6 separate regions of the Homo sapiens genome follow, and all the other regions are linked to region 6. Evidence: promoter capture Hi-C in 16 types of primary human blood cells and fetal thymus (Javierre and others, 2016). All regions are on one chromosome and are shown on one strand. The core of a region is centred on a gene start or on the middle of the fragment in contact, and the rest is flanking DNA. Distances in the headings are between cores, read along the strand shown. Region 1 has its middle 170 kb from the start of AREG. Region 2 has its middle 92 kb from the start of BTC. Region 3 has its middle 130 kb from the start of BTC. Region 4 has its middle 160 kb from the start of BTC. Region 5 has its middle 110 kb from the start of BTC. Region 6 holds the start of EPGN (epithelial mitogen).

What was found. Contacts are between HindIII fragments. The CHiCAGO score rates a contact against its expected background, and 5 or more counts as called.
Region 1: a contact is called between a fragment that was not itself captured here and the fragment with the promoter of EPGN in region 6, in 3 of 17 cell types (erythroblasts, monocytes and megakaryocytes). The highest score is 7.9, in erythroblasts.
Region 2: a contact is called between a fragment that was not itself captured here and the fragment with the promoter of EPGN in region 6, in 1 of 17 cell types (M2 macrophages). The highest score is 5.8, in M2 macrophages.
Region 3: a fragment that was not itself captured here is called in contact with the fragment with the promoter of EPGN in region 6 in 7 of 17 cell types (monocytes, total CD4 T cells, M0 macrophages and 4 more); the score reaches 10.3 in monocytes.
Region 4: a fragment that was not itself captured here is called in contact with the fragment with the promoter of EPGN in region 6 in 5 of 17 cell types (monocytes, naive CD4 T cells, non-activated CD4 T cells and 2 more); the score reaches 7.1 in monocytes.
Region 5: a contact is called between a fragment that was not itself captured here and the fragment with the promoter of EPGN in region 6, in 8 of 17 cell types (monocytes, M2 macrophages, M0 macrophages and 5 more). The highest score is 12.0, in monocytes.

The regions. Positions count from the first base shown.
Region 1 is chr4:74,617,047-74,619,855 of GRCh38, reverse strand. No RefSeq gene overlaps it. Among named protein-coding and RNA genes, the nearest start is that of AREG, 170 kb to the right of the region's middle. The HindIII fragment of the contact is 3,702 bases long and covers 1-2,809 here.
Region 2 is chr4:74,701,462-74,704,161 of GRCh38, reverse strand. No RefSeq gene overlaps it. Among named protein-coding and RNA genes, the nearest start is that of BTC, 92 kb to the left of the region's middle. The HindIII fragment of the contact is 2,911 bases long and covers 1-2,700 here.
Region 3 is chr4:74,659,705-74,662,762 of GRCh38, reverse strand. No RefSeq gene overlaps it. Among named protein-coding and RNA genes, the nearest start is that of BTC, 130 kb to the left of the region's middle. RefSeq lists enhancers at 2,806-3,058, 2,188-3,058. The HindIII fragment of the contact is 5,885 bases long and covers 1-3,058 here.
Region 4 is chr4:74,638,006-74,640,911 of GRCh38, reverse strand. No RefSeq gene overlaps it. Among named protein-coding and RNA genes, the nearest start is that of BTC, 160 kb to the left of the region's middle. The HindIII fragment of the contact is 1,866 bases long and covers 716-2,581 here.
Region 5 is chr4:74,679,373-74,682,385 of GRCh38, reverse strand. No RefSeq gene overlaps it. Among named protein-coding and RNA genes, the nearest start is that of BTC, 110 kb to the left of the region's middle. The HindIII fragment of the contact is 8,908 bases long and covers 1-3,013 here.
Region 6 is chr4:74,307,029-74,310,037 of GRCh38, reverse strand. It overlaps EPGN (epithelial mitogen), which reads right to left and starts at 1,568. Exons shown (of 5, transcript NM_001270989.2): 1 at 1,462-1,568; 2 at 856-945. The coding sequence starts at 1,504. The region is part of intron 2 of LOC105377276 (a long non-coding RNA gene); the gene reads left to right. The HindIII fragment of the contact is 2,238 bases long and covers 489-2,726 here.

The DNA.
Region 1 (2,809 bases), core at 133-2,632, 310 kb before region 6:
TAGGTAGTGTATCACCCTCATTTTACAGATGAGACACATGCTCAGCAGGGAGCCCAAGGTCACGCCCCTTGTCTTGGGTTGGGCAGACCAGGATTCTAATCAAATCCATCTTGCCCCCAAATTCAGGTTCCTTTCACCACACATAAGTAGAGACCCTTGCTTTTATTGAACAATGGTTGTTAACACATCACTTAAGTAGAGTCTTCTAGAATTTTAGTCAATTTAATATCTATTAAATTTCACTCAAAATAAGGCACACTTAAGATCATCAACAAATTATTGAGACTGAAAGGATATTGGTTAATGGCAGAATGTATGAAGTTCACAATCTATTACTATGATAAGGCAGCTGCCTATTTACTCACTTGTACATAGGCTTTTTTCAGATAATTGCAACTGTAATAAGGAAATTATTCTTTAAACGAGTGCATTAAGGTTATCTAGAAGGAAAGTTTTAATATTATGCATAAATACAAGATACCTAGAAAAAATGAAGAATTTGTGGCCCAGAAAGGATTATTGGGCTACCCATTTATTGATTTATTCACTTACAAATTCAAGGATATTTTTAAATTGAAAATTATGTGCTAGGAATTTTTCTAGATGCTGAAGCCCATGCCAGGGTAATTAAGATTCAGCCCTTCCACTTACCTAATATGTTCAAAACAGTCTACAAATGCCTTCTCTACACCTAAAACTGTTTTAGGCATTTGGCATGCCTTAATGAATCAACAGACAAAGATATATGTTCTCATGAAACTTATATTGTACTGGCAGAGACAAAATATCAACAAATAAATAGGACATATGATGATGATGAAAATTAGGCAAAGAGAGTGGGGAGTATGAAACTAAAGAGATAGGATTAAAATAGGATGATCAGAGAATTCAATGGGAAAGTTATGTGAGTCAAATATTTGAAGGAGATGTGAGTCAAGCAAATATCTTGGGAACAAATATTTCATGAGCCAGGAAGAACAAGCACACAGTCTCCAAGGGGGCAGTGAGTCGGGGTGTTTGAGGAAGAATGATGTGGTCATTGTGACTGCCTGGAGTGAACTGAGCATGGGGGCAGTGGCAGGAGAAGAGATCACAGCTACTACTGGGAACCAGATTGTGTGGAGCTTTGTGGCCAGGTTATAGGTGTTGGCTCTCACTCTCAGGGAGATAGGAAAACATTGCAAGATTATGAGCTGACATGACTCAAATGGGGTTACTCTGACTTCTGTGATTAAAAAAAAAAAAAGCCTATAGGAGGAAAAGAACAGAAACTGTGCACCACTTAGGAATATGATAATAATTCAAGTGAAAGATGATGGCATTTTGGGTAAGGGTGCAAGTGGTGGGAAGAAGTGAGATTCTAGTGATAGGTCACAGAAAGTTCCAACATGCTTGGCCTGGTAGGTTCTGCCTCACAAATACCAACTTTCAGGAAAATAACAAGTATAAATATAATAAGCAATTTCCTGAACATAATGGGAAAGAAATAATCGCAGGCAGACACTTGGGACAGGAGGCTGACACTTGAAAGAAGGGAAGGGCACTGAGTGAGTTTCCTGTCTTTGGAGCTTTTAATCTGAGAGCAGATCCCAATCTGTAACAAACAAGGGCCACTAAAACCTAGACAGTAGCTGTATAACCTCATAGGCTTAATTAACTTCAGGACAGATTTGGGGGGACCTTGGCAATTGTAAAGTGAGTGGGGGTAATCCCAGAAAGGAGAGTCACATAAAGGGAGCTACAAATTCTCTACAGAAAGCCTGCTTACATTTCTGGGTGACACTGAAGAATGCCTGTGTAGAGCAGATTCCAGGCAGTGCACCTAAAGCTAAAAGAACTAAATTCGATATTAGAATTTGGAGCTTGAGTTCAGCCAAGTTAACTATCTGTTACAACAACATATTGATATTCTCTAAGGGAAAATAAGAGAATTCAGAGTCTCTTTAATGTATCATTTTTTAATGACCAGGATACCACATAAAATTATGGGCTATACAAAGAAACAAGAAAGGCCTGGTGCAGTGGCTCACCCCTTTAATCCCAGCACTTTGGGAGTCTGAGGCAGGTGGATCACAAGGTCAGGAGTTCAAGACCTGCCTGGCCCAGATGGTGAAACCCTGTCTCTACTAAAAATACAAAAATTAGCTGGGCGTGATGCCAGGTGCTTGTAATCCCAGCTACTCGGGAGGCTGAGGCAGAGAATTGTTTGAACCTGGGAGGCAGAGGTTGCAGTGAGCCGAGATCGCACCACTGCACTCCAGCCTGGGTGACAGAGCGAGACCCCATCTAAAATAAAAATAAAAATAAACAAGAAAAAAAAAAACAAGAAAATACGTCTCAGATTTAAGAGAAAGGTAGTCAGTAGAAACCAATCCCAAGATGACCAGAATGTTAGAATCAGCAGGCAAAATTTTTAAAGTGGCTATTATAAACATATTTAAAATGTAAAGAATATTCTCATAATAAATGAAAATATAGGACATCTCAGTAAAGAAATAGAAAGTATTTTAAAAGAATAAAAATGAAATTCTGAAACTGAAAAACAGAATATCTAAAATGGAAGAAATCACTAGATGGACTTATCAGCAGATTGGAAATGGCAGAAGAAAGGCGTGCTGAACTTGAAGAAAGATCTATTAAAAATGATCTAATCTGAAGGCCAGAGAGAAAAAAAGATTGCTAAGAAATGTACAGAGGCTCAGGAGCATATGACAATTTAAAAAGTCTAACATACACGTGACTCGAGTCCTAGAAAGGGATGAGGGTTCGAAGATAGCAGAAAACACATATACATATATAATACTCAATG
Region 2 (2,700 bases), core at 176-2,675, 390 kb before region 6:
CTTGTCATTCCACATATTTGGCATTCAAGAAAAGATGTTGGTTACAAGTTTAACAGATTGACAGAATTTTATGCTGTCTTCCTTCTCTGATGCATTCTTGCATCCTCCCTTGCTTTGTAGTTACTTCTGTGCATATAATTTTCTACTAGTTTTTAACCTCTGTAAGGGCAAGAAATATATCTTCTGATTTTTTTTTAATTTCCCACTGAAAGTAGCACAGTACCTAGCACAAAGAAAGGAGATAATCAAATACATGTTGAATTAATTGCTGTGGGTGCTAGTTTGGATACTAATTGAACTTCTGTCATCAACAAACTGAAAGCACCGTTGTTTAAACAAAATAGAAGTTTAGTAATATTTTTCTGTCATGTAACAGCTGAAAAGTAGGTGGCTTTGTTTCATGATGTCATTCAAAGAACCAGGATCCTTTAATCCCATGGCTTTATTACTCCCTAGGGATTTGCCTTCATCTTGGGGTGGTCAATGTTGTTCAGTCCAAGGAGTGAGGAAAAGAGCAGTGTAGGGGTTGCAGTTTCCTTTGGGGAATAGCTTCTGCTCACACACTCTTGGCCAACACTCAACCACACAAACTCACTTAGCTGGGAGAAGTGGACTGTAGAAGAGCAGCCATTCACTCAACTAATACTCAGAGATATAAAGAAAGAAGGAGAGAACGCTGTTGTGAAATGATTAGAAGTCTCAGCACACTTTGCTAATTCTGGAATATTCACCCAACACTTACTTTGTGTGCCTTAAGTGCTTCTTAAGAATAGAGATTAGATGGGAAAGGAGAGGATGAGAATTTTGACTCTAGCACCCTCCTGACATAAGGAGGCTTTGTGTGCCTCAGCCTCTGAACCAGGACCTCTATGACTGACACCCAGCTATTCCAGGAAGTCACAGATCCTCAGGTGATTTTTGGTCTGAGGCCAAATGGCCTGTGCCATCCATACCTTGAAAGCATTTTTTTTCCCCATGAAAGAAAAATGTAAAGGCAAAGGGGAGCTGGAATTACATGTTAAACATGGTATGATCCTTCAAGAAATAAATGTGCATATTTTTGTTTCTGATGCAGTTCTACCAAATATAGAAAGCATTTCAGAATTCTCTAAGAGCAATCCTAGATTGGAATGTAAATGTAGACTGGAGAAATAATTTTTAGCACAAATAGACAGACACATAAATGTGAACAGTCTTTCTAATTCAGGAGTTTTCCATTTTTAAGTCATGAAAACTTTGCAATTAAAAAATTTTGAAGCATGAATCAAATGACTAAACTTTACTGATGTGAATGTACAAAGTAAATGACAATAAAACTAACAGTCCGTGTTTGGGGACAATCCATGACTGTCGGATAGTCGGAGGTTTTAGAGTTGGAATAACTTTTCTCTTCTTTCTTTGCTTTTTACCTGATTCATGCAATTCAATTATAAGGCAGTCTGCCTGTATGTGGTCACAAAGACTTTCTGTGCTCATTTTTTAGCTTCTTAATTATACTTGAGGATAATTGCCCTAATATAGTATGTAAATGGGAGTGTAATTGTTGAGTTAGGAGAATAGAAAATAACTGATTTCAGAAATAATATTCGTATGAAATGTAATCATATAAAAATTTGAATAATATTACACACATACACACACACATACACACATTATCTTTAAAAAAAATTCCTTAAAAGTCTAGGGTTATTCTTTAGCTGAATCTCTTTGAGTTTGAGGTTAGAATAATTGGGGTACTCTTATTCACCCTGATATGATTTCTCCATGAATGTACCCAAACAACCAGCAGCTGAAGGGATAATGCTGTGTTCACAGACTCTGCAGCCTGGGATCACAGGACACTGACAGAAAGCTGCATTTCCACAAAGCAACCTTTCCCTCTGAAGGCATCTTTCCCCTCTGATGGGTCACTCTGGGGGAGCTGCTCGTGCAGGTCTTAGCACGGCTGCCTCCTGTTACTGAAGTGTCAGCTCTTCTTAAAGAAGCTCACTGTGACTATCTTTCTTAAAGTCACTCTTTACCTTACCCCAGTCACTTGGTGATATCATCATTTGATTGTCCTGTCTGTCTCTGCTTCCATTAGACTGTGAACTTGATGGCAGGAACCATATCTGTAGGGCATAGCTATGTCTCCTGTGCCTAGAACAGTGCTTGGCACTGAACAAGTACAGGATAATTGTTGGTTGGATAAACAAGTGATCCTTGATTGTGATTTATACTTCATCCTGGTGACTTTTACTTTACTATATCTTCACAATGAAAAGTGTGATTATTGTAAATGGCACATTTATTACTTAGGAGATGCAGCTATTGAAGGAGAGGCCCAGAGAATTTAGGCAATGTTCCCAAGGCACACAGGATGTGTGCAGCTGGAATCACAGGCCAAGTCCTTCCTAGTCTAGGACTCCTTCTCTTTCAGCTCCCTCAAGTTGCCTCCCAATCTGATGAGAATCCAGTGATGTAAGGTATGTGAAAATACCTTGGAGAGTGTAATGGATTATGGAGGAGATATCTTTATATATTTTTTAGTATACAAAATTCTCACTGTTGAAAATAGTTATTTAATGGCAAAGTGTTTTCAGCCTCTAAGTAGAAATAGAGATGCTGTCAGGGTACTCGTTGGAAAAAAACTATGCTAAGACAATGCCTTTCCACAGCAATGTAGCTTAGCGTGTCCATTAATAAATTGGTTCGCAGTTG
Region 3 (3,058 bases), core at 352-2,851, 350 kb before region 6:
TAAGTGCCCATTCTTGACAGTATTTTAAGACTACTTATATTTCCATCACTACTTATATTTCCAAGGAGATAGGTTTGTTTCTTTTTATTTGGATTCTATACACAGCAACAATTATGAACTTTATACCCTGTGATTGTTCCAGGCAGAACCTTTAGTAAATAGTTATGCAGGTATCTTGAGAGACCTGGTAAATATGTAGAATCTGGTCACTGGGTCCCTGATAAGGATAATTACTATTAAGTTGGGTTGCCTTCACTGAAGGGCAGACTTCTTTTTAAAAGTGCTTTTCAAATCAAGTCATCATTTGTCTAGTGGGAGGTTGTCTCCTGGAACAAATGGAGTAATCAGTTTTTAGACTTTCTATGTAAGTAAATCCCTTTAGGGTGGAGGGACAGTGGTACAAACTCTTACTCAGATTTTGTCATAATAGTCATTGCACCTGGAGAGTCAATTCATATGAGAACTCAAGGTTAGGCTAAAATTTCTGGGAAGTTAGGATAGGGTGGGGTCAGTGGAAATTAAACATGTTTGTTATATATTAATTTATTTTCTTTACACAAAAACTATGTATGGAAGAATGAGTCACATTCTAGACCCCAAAGTGGCACTCACGGGTCACTTGAACAGAGAGTTTCCTGCAAGATTTCATGATGGGCTGTGCCCCTAGGCCACCAGAATGTGAAATGTAATGGCCTCCATTTCAACTGAGTGAGTCAAACAAAGAAGGAATCTTGCAGTAAGTGACATTTTACACCATTCCTTCGCTTCCAGGACTTGCATTTCATCACATCTATCTCTTACTTGTCTTATCCTGTAACAGTTGAAAATTCCATCTTGTTTTGCTAGCAATTTGTGTCATAGCCAACTTCCACTTTTTGGGTCAAAGATGACTTTGAGGAAAGAGACTGTGGCAACCTGAAAAGATGGTGATGACTCTGAGTAAATGAATGAGGTCTCCAATTGTCACAAGTCAGCAAATATTTGCTGAGACCCAGAGGCTGTAACAGTAGTTAATGACATTGTTCTGTTGCTTTGTAGCTCTGTCAATTTACTGAGACAGAAAATATGATTATGTTACCAGTAGAACCATGGCCTCCAGAGCAGCCCTTTAAAGGCTTAGAAGCCTGTAGGCAAAATGGGTCCTGAAAGAACAATCATCTATTAGTCATGGTATTAAAGTCAGTACTCCAGGCATTTACTCATTTGCAGCTTTTTCTATTTTACAAGTTTAAGTATCTCATAAGATTTCACTTACTCCATAAACCCTTATATTAAAAAAAAAAAAAAGTAAAGAGAAAGCTCATTTCAAGTTTCAAGTAAAACTTTCCAATTTGGCAGAGGTACTAAATTAATTTTCATTAATTACTCAGCATGACAATTATTCACACAGCACCTAGCTCTGGGGTAATGGTAGTGAGCACGTCTGAGCCTGTAGGTCAGGGGTTTCAGAGGTGTGGGTTCAAGTCTCAGCTCTGCATCTGCATAACCTGGAAAAGGTCAAAAACCCATGGTTTTTGTAGTGTACATTTTCAAAGAGTTTTTAATATGTCTGACACTGTTCTGAGTACTTTATATTTAATCTCCATAACAACACTATCAAATAAGTATTGTCTCTATCTTTATTTTAAGGATAGGGAAAGTAAGGCACAGAGAAGTGGAAAACCGTCTAATGGAATGGAGTAAGGAGAAGGCAAAGTAGGATTCCATTCCAAGTAGGATTCCATTCCAAGCAAGCTGCTATAAGAGCTGGTGCTACTGACCACAGTGCTCAATTGCTCTTCATAAGATCCCATGCTACAAACAGTAGAGAAAAAAATCCCCTGGGAATAGTCTGTCTATTCCTCCATAAATTTAGTATCCAATCAGGCCTTGAATCGTAGAAAATTGGATATATCTACTTCAAATATAATAAAGGTAAGGCAGCACTTTTTGAAACTTTTCTTGGGAGTTAAAAAGTTAACTAACATTATTACAGATTTGTAAACAAGGTTTTATTTGACATGGGTCCCAAGAGGCTCATAAATATCTTCCAAAATATTGTGGAGACTTACTGGCTAAATCTCTCACCTGTGGCTTTGGCCAGTGCTGAACTAATGTTTTTTGCTGAGTATGGTCAGTGATTTTTATACTGTTATCCGATCTACTGGGTTTTACCCTGGGGCCCATCTTTTATCACATTATTTTGAAAATCCTAAATTACCTGTAAATAAAAAAGAAATCAATTTGCCTGTGCTCTGCTGAAAATTAGGTTCCGGTTAAACTTTAAAAAAAAAAATCTTTTTCTTATCAATAACCAAACTGTGCTCTTGGAGTTTAATTATTCTAAGACCATACATTGTTCAATGGCCAACCATGGAGTTGAAAAGCCTGATTTCATTTAGTTTATCTATAACCAATGATTTGGAACGTTAAATTTAGCCATATGATAGAATAAGGATGAAGAAAATCATAGGAAAAGTGTATTTTCAATAAGGTGTTTGAGAAGAGAATCAGATCTCTCTCTCTTTATTTTTCTGTCTCTCTTTGTATGTGGGTATCTGTGTGTTTTTTGAAGGTTAAGAAAGATGACCTTTCAAAAGTAAAGAGTAGTCATCAAAAGTCTGTTTAGTTACTAATATCTTCAAAAGTTTCTAGTGTAAAACATCTTTTTTATCCTTTGACTACCTCTTTTGAAATGCATTTGGGATATTGACCTCACCTTTCACCTCACTCCTGTTTCTCATTCTCTTATGACTCATATAACAACTCCACTCCTTCTTTTTCAAAAATGTGTGGCAGTTGTGACGGAAGTACTTCTGAGTCAGTCAGAAGTAGGGAAGAATGCCAAATGGCTGATTCACTCCCCAGAACTTGGAGGAGGAGACAATTAGGGAATTAACTTCAGTTGTGGGGGTAATGGTTTATACAGTGGTTTGTGCAAGCTCACTTACAACCTGTGACATGCAGGAAATTCACCTCAATTTTTTAATTCAAACACCTACACTACTCTTGTCTTAACCTGTTGGGTATGGGTACTATCAGGAAAAACATCCTTTCTTTGTAATTTTTTTCTGAGACA
Region 4 (2,906 bases), core at 399-2,898, 330 kb before region 6:
CACCTTGATCCAGAATCATTTTAGCTATATGCATTGGTCAGCAAATGAACAACTAGAGCTTCATCATAGATGTTAAAATCTTCTTCGATATCCACCTCTCCCAGCTTACTGACAGACTCTGAAGGTACTGTATGTTTTTTTGCACAGATAAGGAGGTTCAGACATCTTTGTTTTTTCTCACTTGACATACTTAATCTTTCAGAGTCACTACCTTGTTTATCATCATGGAACACAGTCATGGGCCAGAAGTTGTGGCAGGTATACACAATTGTGTCTTTAGTCACTATGTTCCAAGTGTTGGCAACAGCACGTATGGCATCTTTCATGCTAAACTTTTGAAAATCTTCCGTATTCACGCCTTTGTTCACTACTGCTAGAATTCAAGAAAGTGTTTTTATATTTACTTTTCATTGATTTAGGGATACCCTGATCACATGGTTGAATTTAATGAGGTCACATTTGGAGAAAAGTACATGGCTTAAACATTATTTTGTTATGATAATTTCAGCTGAAGAATGAGCAGAACAGCTGTCAAGGAATAACAAAATCTTGTAGTTACAATCTAGTTCAGTTTCCTGGCAGTGAGCATGAGTCACTAGTACAAATGTCTATGAAGCCAATCCAAAAACATGTCTCTGGTGATCCATCACTTTTTGTTAGCATAGTAGTGGGCTAGTAAGAGATTTACTCCTTGAAAACAGTGAAGATGCAAGCTTTTGCTTATCACAACAGTTTAACTTAAGCATGTCTGCTGTATTAGCAAATCCCAGCACAGGTATTCTGTCCTAGGCACCCTTAATTCCTGTAGGGGCTGTCTCATCAGCCATAGTCAGTGTCTTTCTGGGGCAATAATGCCAAGACAGTGGTGTTTCATAAGCATTATAGACTTGTGCTGTTGTCAGATTTTCATCAGCTATGACCTTGGCAAATTTGCTAATTAATTTCCCCACCGCTTGGTGATCAGCAGTCACTTTATCATCACAAATCTTTAAAACTTAATGTCATGTGTTTCTTAAATTTCTGCAACCAGTCTGCTGAATATTCATAGTTCCCTTCAAATTTTAGTCCATTGTGATAGATCTTTGCTTGCTTGTTTTCATATAATTAAGTGGCATGTGTTCACTATGATGCTGATAGATCCACTCTTTTTTTTTTTTTTTTTGAGACAGAGTTTCACTCTTGTCACCCAGACTGCATTGCAATGGTGTGATCTCGGCTCACTGCAACCTCCACCTCCTGGGTTCAAGTGATTCTCCTGCTGCAGCCTCCCAAGTAGCTGGGATTACAGGCACCTGCCACCATGCCTGGCTAATTTTTGTATTTTTAGTAGAGACAGAGTTTCATCACGTTGGCCAGGCTCAAACTCCTGCCCTTATGTGATCCCCCCGCCTTGGCCTCCCAAAGTGCTGGATTACAGGCGTGAGCCACTGTGCCCGGCCCCAGATCGACTCTTTCAATACACAATTGAGATCTTCATTTTTAGCTTTATGCAGTGTTTTTCTATTTGTTATTAATTTCTCCTCATCACTTTCAGCATAGAACTTAGAAAGTTTATTCTTCTTTTTCTTCAGGTCATATATGGTATTCTTCCACAAGATGTTTCACACTCCACTGTCCAGTTTATCCCACAACTCAACATTTTATGCTATAAATAAACATAAATGATTCCTCTTATTACAGTTATCCATATGGATATATGCAGCCCTTTTTGACATTTTCAACCATATCTATATGCCACAGAGCAGACAATAAGCAAAAAAACAGAGTGAGTAATGCTTGTAGGTCTTGGCTCCATGTGAGGCACCATGAGGAACTTGCTGTTGGTGTGTCTGGCACGTACAGTTGCCATTTGATTACCTTTTATGGGTGTGCTTGGGTGGGGGAATCTGGGCCTCATGAAAAAGATACATTGTAGCTGAAGGGTGCTGGGAGGGTCTTTTTCCCCTTGGGGTTGCTGAATGAACTGTGTTGTGTGACTGCAGTTTGACTGCAACCCAGCATATGAGGTCACGTGTGGGATTTTCTAATTGCGACATCATGTGGGTGCTCAAAATGTATTACATTTTGGAGCATTTCAGATTTCAAATGTTCATATCACAGACACTCAACCTCATGGACTATCATTCACTGGGAAAACCAAGTTTTATTGTCTATATTTCCCTAATTTGCCTGCTATTTAGAGCTTTCTCCTATGGTTTTAGTAGACTTCTTTCCCTATGTATTTTGTTTATTTGTTTTAGTTTTTTATTTGATGTGATTTTTGGAGTTTTCTTCACTTTCTAGTTAGACCTACAATGCATTAAAATTTGTTGGAATTTGTGTTTTAGTGACTGATATTTTATCAAGAGGGTCCTTGAAACTGGCTTACCATCACATTTATAGAAGCAAAAGTTTGGTGATTGTTTTATTAGTTTTTTTGGCATAATTAGTTTTTATCCTTATTCTTTTTCATATATTAATAGAAGAATGGAATGCTTTAAAATTTTCACTGTATATAGCTTAGGTAATGTTTTATACTACATAAATTTTTCTTCATGATTTTGCCATTTAAATTATTTTTAACTTATTTACAATTGAAGCTTCCCATGCTTTGATTAAGTTATCTAGACCTTGAAGTTGTTTCTTAGCTCTGCTATGACTTATTTAGTGAAAGGCAAATATCCATGCCTATGCTAGATGATGAAACGGGATGCATAGCTCCTGCAGTCAGTGGGGTGGTGGGAGAAATTAAGGTCAGAATCCTGGAACAGATGGATTCTGGTTTGAGTCAGAGCCATGCAATCCAATTTTCCTTTCCCCTAAGAAAAGTGTTTCATTGATGCCAAGTTTAGAAGATTCACCTTGTATCACATTAAGGGGTTTATTGTAAAAAAATTAAATATGTAATTATCAGGTTATGGTTAATC
Region 5 (3,013 bases), core at 358-2,857, 370 kb before region 6:
ACTAATGAACATCCACAGGCATCAAGACCATCCAGGAAAACACGACCTCACCAAATGAATTAAGGTACTCACCAGATACTAATCCTGGAGAGGCAGAGATATGTGACCTTTCAGAAAGAGAATTCAAAATAGTTATTTGAGGAAGCTCAATGAAATTAAATATAACACAGAGAAGGAACTCAGCATTCTATCATATAAATTTAACAAAGAGATAGAAATAACTTAAAAGAATCAAGCAGAAATACTGGAGCTGAAAAATGCAATTGACATAGTAAATAATGGATCAGAATCTTTTAATAGCAGAATCGATCAAGCAGAAGACAGAATTGGTCAGTTTGAAGACAGGCTACTTGAAAATTCAGACTCAGAAGAGACAAAAGAAAAAAGAAGAGAAAATAATGAAGGATGCCTATATGATCTAGAAAATAGCCTTAAAAGGGCAAATTGTAGTGTATTGGCCTTAAAAGAGGATCTTAAACAAGAGATCAGAGTAGAAAGTTTATTCAAAGAGATAATAACAAAGAACTTCTCAAACCTAGAGAAAGATACCAATATTCAAGTACAAGAGGATTATAGAACACCAAGCAGATTTAATCCAAATAAGACTACTTCAAGACATTTAATAATAAAACTCACAAAGGTCAATGATAAAGAAATGATTCTAAAAGCATCAAGAGAAAATTAAAAAAATTAACACACAAGGGAGCTCTAATATGTCTGGCAGTAGACTTCTCCATTGAAATCTTACAGGCCTGGAGAGACTGGCATGCCATATTTAAAGTGTTGAGGCAAAAACGTTTGCCCTAGAATAGTGTATCCAATGAAAATATCCTTCAAATCTGAAGGAAAAATAAAGACTCTCCCAGACAAATAAAAGCTGAGGGATTTTATTAACACCAGACCTGTCCTATGAGAAATGCTAACGAGTGTTCTTTAATCTGAAAGAAAGGGCATTAATGAGCAATAAGAACTCATCTGAAAGTACAGAACTCACTGGTAATATTAAACACACAGTAAAACACTAAGTAATATTACTAATTACTAAACATTACTAATATTAAAACATTATGATTGTGAAGTACAAACAATTCATATCTTTAGTAGAAACACTAAATTGAACTGATCGGAAATAATAACTACAACTTTTCAAGACATAGACAGACATAATATAACAAAACATAAGTAGAAACAACAAAAAGTTAAAAAGCTGGGTGATGAAGCTAAATTTTAGAGCTTTTTTACTTGTCTCTTTGCTTATTAGTTTGTTTACACAATCAATGTTGCCATTAGTTTAAAATACCAAGATATAAAATATTATTTGCAAGCCTAATGGTAACCACAAATCAAAAAGCATGCAACAGATACACAAAATGTAAAAAGCAAGAAATTGGAACATACCACCAGAGAAAATCACCTTCACTGAAAGAAATTCAGGAAGAAAGAAAAGAAACAAAACAGACAGAAAACAAATAACAAGATGGCAGGAGTAAGTCTTTACTTATTAATAATAACACGGAATATAAATTGACTAAACTTTCCAAAGAAAGACATAGAGTAGCTGAATAGATTTAAAAAAGGAAGACCCAACTATTGGTTGCTTACAAGAAAGACATTTCAACTATAAAGACAGACACAGATTAAAAAGAAAGGGAAGGAAAAAGATATTCCATGCAAATGGAAACCAAAAAGAGCAAAAGTAGCTATACTTATATTGGACAAAATGATTTCAAAACAAAAAATAAAAACTATATAGAGACAAAGAAGGTCATTATATAATGATAAAGGAATCAATTCAGAAAGAGAATATAACAATTGTAAATGTATGTGCACCAAACACTGGAGCACCCAGATATATAAAGCAAATATTATTAGAGCTAAAGAGAGAGATAAACCCCAATACAGTAATAGCTGGAGACTCCAAAACCTCACTTTCAGCATTGGACAGATCATCCAGACTGAAAACCAACAAAGAAATATCAGGCTTACTCTGCACTCTAGACAAATGGACCTAATAGATATTTACAGAACATTTCATTCACAAGCTGCAGAATACACTTTCTTTTCCCCAACACATGGGGAAACAAGTCTTAAAACATTCAAAAAATTAAAATCATATTAAGTATCTTCTCTGACAAGAATAAAATAAATGTAGAAATTAATAACAACAGAAACTTTGGAAACTATAAAAACTTATGGAAATTAAACAATAGGCTCTTGAATGACCAGTGGATCAACGAAGGAATTAAGAAGGAGATTGAAAAATTTATTGAAACAAACATTAATGGAAACAAAGCATTACAAAATCTGTGGGATACAGTGAAAGCAGTACTAACAGGAAAGTCTATAGCAATAACTGCCTACTTTAAAAAAGTAGAAAAACTTCAAATAAACAACATAACAATGCATCTTAAAGAACTAGAAAAGCAAGAGCAAAATAAGCCCAAACTTAGTAGAATAAAATAAATAATAATGATCAGAGCAGAAATACATGAAATAAAAATGAAGAAAAATACCAAATCTTACCAAAAGGTTGTTTTTTGAAAAGATAAACAAAATTGACAAACCTTTAGCCAAACTAACTAAGAAAAAAAGACAGAAGACCCAAATACATAAAATCAGAGATGAAAAAGGAGATATTACAACCAATACCACAGAAATTCAAACGATCATTAGTGGCTACTATGAGAAACTATATGCTAATAAGTTGGAAAACCTAGAGGAAATTAATAAATTCTCAGACACATATTACCTTCCAAGACTGAACCATGAAGAAATCCAAAACCTAAACAGACCAATAACAAGTAATGAGATTGAAGCTATAATAAAACGTCTCCCAGCAAAGAAAAACCCAAGACCTGATGCCTTCACTGCTGAATTTTTCCCAACATTTAAAGAAGAATTAATACCAATCCTGCCAAAACTGTTCTGGAAAATAGAGGAGGAGGGAATTCTTCCAAACTCATTCTATGGAGCCAATATTACCCTGTTACCAAAACTCGGCAAAGAAACATCA
Region 6 (3,009 bases), core at 319-2,818:
AAATGGGTAAAATATTTCGAGACAATCATTTAAAATTTTAAATTATTGGTGACATGAAGAACACTGAGATATGACAATCTTCCTTTATTTGCCTGACTCTGAGTGCAAGACATTGTTTCCTCTGTCCTAAATCAAATTGCCAGCCTTCACATAGCAATCAGGATGCGATTTGCAGAAGAATCATAACCACTCAGTCACAGGTCTTGGTAAGCAACAAGCTTTCCAAGTTTCACCTCTAAGAGTTTAAACAGATTAGAGAAAGAACGCTGATGCTCAAGAGCATCCAGAAGCCACTGTGATAATAATTAAGTGCAAAAGAAAATATATCATTACCATCAACAACAAAAATTGGGTACAAGTGGTTAGGAAATACAGCATATGCTAAAATAACAACAAAAACTCCAAAGCAAACAAGAAAAAAAGGTCATTCCAAAGATGAGGGAAAGTGCTGTTCATCTTGTAGCCATAATGTCTTTGGCATCAAAGCTTATAATCACAGATCAAAATATAATGCTGCTCATCAAGAATGCCAAAATGGGGACAAACTGTCTCTGTACACACAGGGGTTATTGGGAACCAAGCAGAAATGAAGCAGAAAATGTGGCCTGTTTCACATTCAAGACAGTAACTGAAGACAGCTTTTGTCTCATTTGCTTAACTTCCTCCTTTTAAAAAGGCAATTATTTCCTGGCACATTTATCTGTCACTTCAATTTAACAGCATCCTGCTAAAAGAGCTGATTATCTAATAATAAAATATATATTAAAAATGGCCAATATTGCTTTTATCACAATCCAAATTTCTCTCCCAAGTTTTAGAAAAGTCTTGTGAAATATGAAAATGGGAAGAAAATACCTTCTGTTTTGTTAACTGTCCAGTTACCTTGCTGGGCTGTGATTGGAGGTGTTACAGTCACGGCTGCCTCTTCGGTCAGTGCTGTCATTGCTGTATTAAGGGGGCAAAAGCATCTTTAACAGAGAGCCTCCTTCTATGTACAAGCAACAGATGGAAAGTATTCTTATTCTGTTTATTCCAATTTCTATTTTTTTAATTTATTACAGTTGAAATCCATAACGTGACTAGGGCAACATACTTACAGTTTCTCATCCATTCCATTGACTATATTAGGATTAAAGCAAATAAAAACCCAATATTTAAGACCATTGATACATTTACATATTAATTAAAAAATAAGAACCCTATAGTATAGTAGCTAAATGTATCAATTACTCTTCAATTGTATAAAGCAAACATTCTGGAGGTCTCAAAAAAGGTGTCAAAATATATTAGGAAAGGAACATACAGGACATAAGAAACTAAATTAATCCACAGATTCATTACTCTGATCTTTGTCATAAAGAACAACTGTTAGAAGCCAACTTCTCTCTAATGCAGAGAAAATAAATTCTATTCACATTTTACACTGATATAAAGTTAACAAAACAAAAGGAAATTACCTACCGTTGAATAAAAGATAGACTGATATTGGAACTCCCAAAGCCATTTCCTGTAGTTGCTTAACTTTCTTTCTCTTATCCTTCTAGACTGACGGGTGGAAGGTTTTTATTGAGCTCTCTGAGTCTTTGTTGCATTTATATTTCATGAAGCGTCATCTGGCAGTTCTTACCAATCAAAAAAATATGTACTTCTGGCAGCAGCAGAAAGCCTCTGGGCGCTCACGCACTTGGTTAGGATACCTGTATTATCTAGCAATGTGATCAAGTTTTCTTTTGAAACACTGGTTTCCTGTTACCTGTGGGCATAATCATGTATGTAAAAGTACTTAAAACAACAAGAACAAAATGTAATTTCAGGAAAGGCTCCCATTGGTGTGAAGAGAACTATACCAGCTCAAACTATGCTAGAAACCTATACGGGAGTTCAACAAACATAACTGCAAATTAGGAAGCAGCATAACCTGTTTCTAAAAGAAATATACCTGAAACTATAGTTGGTTATACCACCTTTTATTACAGACTATAAGTTCCATTTCAAATCAAGATAATTTGTTAATTTAGTTGCAGAGAACAGTTAAATTTGTGAAAACACAGAGGTTTCATATTCCATTTTAGTGTTTGTTTCTTAGTGTTACTATGACAAGTGCTGTAAATAAAATTATTTTTAATAGTATAATATTCACCTTTCTGTCATCCTGCTATTTAACATTTTTCTGAGTAAATGAAATGGGCTGCCATATTCCAGGAACAACAATGCTTAAATCTGCATCCCAATGATTAAGCTACAGAGAACCAGTAAAGTACCAACATAATGATAATAGCAATAATAATAATATTAAAATTCTCCATTAAGAGAAAATTAAGATGACATTTAGTTTGGATACATCCAATGAATAGAAAGTTTCTAAGTTAATACAACATTCAAATTATTTCTCAAGTTCATCTAGTTGTAATTATTAAAGTGGCACTTTAAAGGCCAAAATATGTCATTACAGCTACTATATTTTACAACTACAGAAATTTTCACTTGCCCCAAATTAATATAAATGATTTATAAATATATCTTCCTGAGGCATTGAGTCTTTCTGTCTGGAATTTCAATTCCTTGTATTTTCTTGAAACTTGAAACCTCAAAACCCTAAAAACATATTCAAGTCAAGATAGGTTATCTTTTGCATCATGTCCACTCAGCAAATTAGATTTACCAGAAAGGAGCCCTTTCACTATTCAAATATAAATGTGGTGTTAGAAATCACACAAGAACAAGCTTGTTGAACTCATTATAACTTGGGCAATCACTTGCCACAGGAGTCATCATTTTAAAGTTAAAATAATATAATAGTACTTGGCTCGCTTTAAATGTGTCTACATTTTGCATTTCTACTTTTGTAGGTTTTTAAAAAACTGTTGATTACTAAGTCGATTTCTAGATAATATATTTCCCAGGCAAATAACATTTGAATTATAAATTGAACAATCGTCTTTGCACCATTGCTGAGAATTTAAAAAGAAATCATTTACAAAAGATTAAATAAACCATCACAATTCTTTT